2 separate regions of the Homo sapiens genome follow, and region 2 is linked to region 1. Evidence: promoter capture Hi-C in human tissues and cell types (Jung and others, 2019). All regions are on one chromosome and are shown on one strand. Each heading gives the region's core, a stretch centred on a gene start or on the middle of the fragment in contact. The rest is flanking DNA. Distances are from core to core; before and after follow the strand shown.

What was found. Contacts are between HindIII fragments. The study calls those that stand out against the background at their distance.
Region 2: a fragment that was not itself captured here is called in contact with the fragment with the promoter of COPG1 in region 1 in 2 of the 25 tissues and cell types used here (bladder and mesenchymal stem cells).

What each region holds. Positions count from the first base shown.
Region 1 is chr3:129,248,253-129,250,952 of GRCh38, forward strand. COPG1 (coat protein complex I subunit gamma 1) reads left to right here and starts at 1,354. Exons shown (of 24, transcript NM_016128.4): 1 at 1,354-1,494; 2 at 2,430-2,482. The coding sequence starts at 1,458. The HindIII fragment of the contact is 12,995 bases long and covers 1-2,700 here.
Region 2 is chr3:129,166,698-129,169,397 of GRCh38, forward strand. CNBP (CCHC-type zinc finger nucleic acid binding protein) reads right to left here. Exons shown (of 5, transcript NM_003418.5): 5 at 1,130-2,700. Among named protein-coding and RNA genes, the nearest start is that of ISY1-RAB43, 7.0 kb to the left of the region's middle. The HindIII fragment of the contact is 4,446 bases long and covers 1-2,700 here.

The DNA.
Region 1 (2,700 bases), core at 104-2,603:
GCTGGCCCCTCTGACATCTCCCTTCCTCCAGCTTTGCGGTCACCCTTTTCACCTGGGGCCTCTGCCTCAGCCTCCTGCCTCTCCTCTCCACAGCCCACTCCTTCTCCTGCCCACAGGCCTGCGGGCTTCCCCTCCCCAGGCAAGCTGGGGCCGTGTCGCAGCGCTTGGCCATCACGACTTTGCCATTGCCAATGCAATCTGGCTCACTGGCATGCACTGTGCTTACCTTAGCCTCAGGGTGTCCTGCATAGGTCCCCAGGAAGATAAACCCTGGGTGATGTGTCATTTTCCCCTTTCCGTTCCTTCCCACGCCCTTCCCCCCACCTCCCCGCGTAGGCAGCGCATCTAGTTGGCACTCCATAAATATCCAAAGTATTTACAAAATAACGTAGAAGTTCTATGCTGTTTAGTTAGATCTCTTAAGGTTGATAATGTACAAGGCAATTTGCATCAGGAGCAGACGAGATAGGGCCCGGCAGATATAAATTAAAAATGCAATTGCACGCATTCATTCAACGAGAACTCACTGAGCAACTACTATGTGCCAACATTATCCACTGCAGTGAATAAAAGACAAACAAACAAGCAAATAACAAAAAAAAAAACAAAAGAGCAAGAAAGTGGCCGGGTGCAGTGGCTCACCGCTGTAATCCCAGCACTTTGGAAGGTCGAGAAAGGAGGATCGCTTGAGGCCACGAGTTCAAGACCAGACTGGGCAACATCATAGTGAGACCTCGTCTCTACAAAAATTAAAAAATTAGTCGGGGGTGGTGCGCCCAGCTCTACTCGGGAGGCTGAGGTGGGAGGATCGCTTGAGCCCAGGAACTGTAGGCTGCAGTGAGCCAGGATCGCACAACTGCACCACAGCCTGGGCAGCAGAACGAGAAATAAATAAACAAATAAAAGCCAGAAAGTAAAAATAAAGTGTTAGATGGCGATTCGAGCTGAGGAGGAAATCAGGCAGGGGAAAGAATCTGAAAGCGAGGAGTGAGTGGCTGGCAAGGCTCCTTCGGAAGGTGGCAATAACAGTCATAGACCGGTCACATCAATTGGGTGTTTACTGCGGGCCAGTGTGTGCCACCAACCTCACACCCGAAAGCCACAAAGACTCACGCCACAACGCAACGAGGCAGGGGCTCCTCCTCCTCCCTTGGTATACGGAAAGAAGCGTAGGGAGCAGAGTTGGGATGCTAGTCAGTACCCCCCTGCACCTAGCCCTTGCCCCTCCGTCTGGCTTTCCCCACTCCCGCTCCGGCGGAGCTAAGGTTAACATTAGACGAGGCTGTGGCTACCGGAAAGAGCGCAGGCGCAGAGCGCGGAATGCGCCTGCGCAGAGCGCTGGGCGACGTGGCCAGTCGGGGCCCGGAAGTGGTCCCTGTAGAACCACTGTGGCACCGCTACTCCGTGCCGCGCCCGTCGAGCATTGCGTTGCTGCATTGCGCCCCACCGACTCCACTATGTTGAAGAAATTCGACAAGAAGGATGAGGAGTCAGGTGAGGGGGCCAGGCCTGGGTCTGAGGGAGGCCGGACCCCCACCCGCCGAGCTTTCCTTCTGGTTCTCTGTCCTGACCCGGAGGCTGAGGCCCAGTGAGGGGCAGGGGCTTGTGCCAGGGTCCACAGCTAGTCAGTGGCAGGCCTCGGAGAGCCCGAGCATGCGCGGCTGTCTCACTCTTGTAAGCTCGGACTGCAATTTTCTGGGTGACCTTGGGCGCGACAAACACCCCCCCCCCCAGGCCTCAATTTACCCATCTGTCAAAGGAGGGGACCATGCCGAATGTTCTCTTGTTACTTTCTTCGTCCAACCTCTTGGGATTCGCTGGGGCTACGTTGGTGCTGGCCAAACTGGGGTGTAACCTGCGGAGCCAGCGTCCTGTGACTGGGAACTCTGACCCCATCATTCATTTATTCAGCAAAGTATATTGAGCAGTTACTGTATGCCAGGTACTGTACGGTGTCCTGGATACTGCAACAGAGCAAGTGGGACACTCAGTGCCTGAGCTAGGAATATTAGAATGGTTGCACCCACGATGGAGGAGGCAGACATCAACCAGATAATCACACGTGTAATTATTTGCAAATGTGTCATCTGCTATGAAGGAACTAGTTACAACGAGATGGTGGTCCCTGGCACATAGGGACTTAGTTAATTACAAGTTATATAAATGAACACAAGACATGGCACCATGAGAAGCACAGGACTGTACCAGGGCTGCTGGGAGATTGTGAGTGGTTTGGGGTAGAGTGGAGCCCACCTGCTTGCAGGAGACTAGTAGGATCCCTAGACAGATTGTAGAGGCTTGATTGCCATTCCTGAGGAGTTTGAACTTTACTAGATTTCCTAGGAAGGGACATCTTCCCTTTACCTATGTCTGGGAGAGTTTTGAAGTTCAGAGTCACAACCTACCTTCTCCATTGTCCTTGACCGTAGGTGGAGGCTCCAACCCATTCCAGCACCTTGAGAAGAGTGCGGTACTCCAGGAGGCAAGTGACATTTGCTCCCCTCTAGCTTCCATCATAAATATTCACCACCAATGCAACTGAAATACCAACACATTCAAAGTGTTGTTTTAAAGAGCAACACGGGAGAAAACTTGTGCCTGGAAGTTTTCTGGAAGACAGGAAAACTTTGTTTCTGGAGAGAGTTAGTTATGCTTACTTCTTTTTTTTTTTTTTTTTTTTTTTTTTTCTGAGACAGAGTC
Region 2 (2,700 bases), core at 190-2,689, 81 kb before region 1:
CCAGAGCAAGACTCCTTCTCAAAGTAAGAAAAAGAAACAAATTAACCTAATGCAACTCATAAATGCTGACTGGATCCTGGTTTGGAAAACGTAGCTACATAACACTTCTTAGACACAATTATGCTATTTGAATATAGTATTAGATATCAGATACTAGGGAATGTTTAGATACATTAAGTATGATAATGGTACTGTGGTAATGAGAACATCTTATAAGATGCATGATAAAGTGATGTCACGTCTATAACTTACTTTCAAACTATTGTTAACTCTAGATCGAGAACACATGGGGGGTTCATTGTACTGTTTTTTTTTTTTTTTGAGACGGAGTCTGTCTGTTCCCCAGAATGGAGCGCAATGGCGCCAATCTTGGCTCACTGCAACCTCTGCCTCCTGGTTCGAGGTATTCTCCTGCCTCAGCCTCCTGAGTAGCTGAGAATCAAGGCGTGTGACACCACACCTGGCTAATTTTTGCATTTTCAGTAGAGACAAGGGTTTCCCCATGTCAGCCAGGCTGGTCTCGAACTCCTGACCTCATGATCCACCCGTCTTGGCTTCCCAAAGTGCTGGGATCACAGGAATAAGCCACCACGCCCAGTGTGACTCCTTTTAGTTAGCCGGATTTCTCTGTAAAATACACATTTTCATGTTGCATTTGCTTTCCAGTCATCAAGGTCAATGCAAATAAATTTTATCTTATAAAGGAACACTTTGTAGTCTCCTGTGAATAGGTCCTTAATTATGTTGTTTCAAAAGGTCTCACAAAGCAACTAAAGTACTACAAATTCAGCACAAGGAATGGGTGCATGAAGCAAAGGAGTTCTAAATTTTAACCAACCCACTTTACTTTTTCCCTTCCCAACACACAAAGCTGTGATTAACGCAGGAGAAAGTATTATTAATGAGAACTAAGCTGACCTGAAGAGCCATAACAACATATCCCATTTGCTATGTTTTAGGTTTTCCTACATGAGGCCCAGAATTTGGGGGGAAATAACTCCATGTGCACACCAGCCCCCAAACCTCATTTAACAGTGATGCCTTCAAAAATAAATCTTTCCCCCAACCTAACAGTGATGCCTTCGAAAAAAAGTCTTTCCTTATGCTGTTTCATACATATGGTAGAAAATAAAATTGTCAAGATATTTATTGTGTTAACATGTGAGACATACAATTTGCTCAGTAAAAATAGCACATGAAAAAATATTATAAGCTTATATTCATAAAGAAATGGGTATGTTATTACCTCTTTTTCTTGCTTGCTCAGGACTATTAATTTGACAAGGTTGGAATGTGCACAGCACAGCTGAGACACCACCATTTTAACACTGAATCACTATACCATGAACTGACAGAACCCTGCATGAAGGATGAAAAACTCATACCCAAAGTCAAGAATCACACAGCAGCATGGAGGGGGAAAATGAACTATATGATGCTAACCGCATTTAATTTCGAAGTGGGGGGAAACAGGGCATGGGGAGTGAATAATGGTTGAAGTTCCAGGCTCTAACTGTACATCCTTAAGTAAATTAAGTTTAACTCATCTATTAAAAAGTGAGTTAAAACAGATGAGTTTTAAGGTCCATCTCAACTCTAAATGAGACACTAGCAAAAACAAGGAATCCACCACTTCAGATCCTTATGAAACCCAGGAAAAGGTGGGGCACAGTGGCTCACCTGAGGGCAACAGTTGGAGACCAGCCTGACCAACACAGTGAAACCCCATCTCTACTAAAAATAACAAAAATTAGCTGGGTGTGGTGGCGGACACCTGTAATCCCAGCTATTTGGGAGGCTGAGGCAGGAGAATTACTTGAACGGGGTGTGGGGGTGGGGGGTGGAGGTTGCAGTGAGCTGAGATTGCACCATTGCACTCTAGCCTGGGCAACAGAGCGAGACTGTCTCAAAAAAAAAAAAAAAAAAAAAAAAGGCCCAGGAAAAACACAAAAATAGCAATGGTATTAAAACTGTTCAGAATCGGCCAGACACGGTGGCTCGCACCTGTAACACTAGCACTTTGGGGGGCGGGGCAGGTGGATCACCTGAGGTCAGGAGTTGGAGACCAGCCCGACCAACATGATGAAACCCAGTCTCTACTAAAAATACAAAAAATAGGCCGGGCGCGGTGGCTCACGCCTGTGATCCCAGCACTTTGGGAGGCCAAGGCGGGCGGATCACGAGGTCAGGAGATTGAGACCATCCTGGCTAACACCGTGAAACCCCGTCTTTACTAAAAATACAAAAAAAAAAAATTAGCTGGGCGCGGTGGCGGGTACCTGTAGCCCCAGCTACTCAGGAGGCTGAGGCAGGAGAATGGCACGAACCCAGGAGGCGGAGCTTGCAGTGAGCCGAGATCGCACCACTACACTCCAGCCTGGGCAACAGAGCGACACTCTGTCTCAAAAAAAAATAAAAAAATAAAATAAAAATAAAAATACAAAAAATTAGCGGGGGGTGGTGGCGGGTGCCTGTAATCCCAGCTACTCAGGAGGCTGAGGCAGGAGAATTGCTTGAACCCGGGAGGTGGAGGTTGCAGTGAGCCAAGCCTGCACTCCAGCCTGGGCGACAAGAGTGAGACTCCGTCTCCAAAACAAAACAAAACCACCACCACCAAAAAACCTGTTCAGACTGAACACAGAACTCAAGGGCATTATTATAACAGATTACAAAGTGAATTTTCTATAGCTTTGCAAAAGT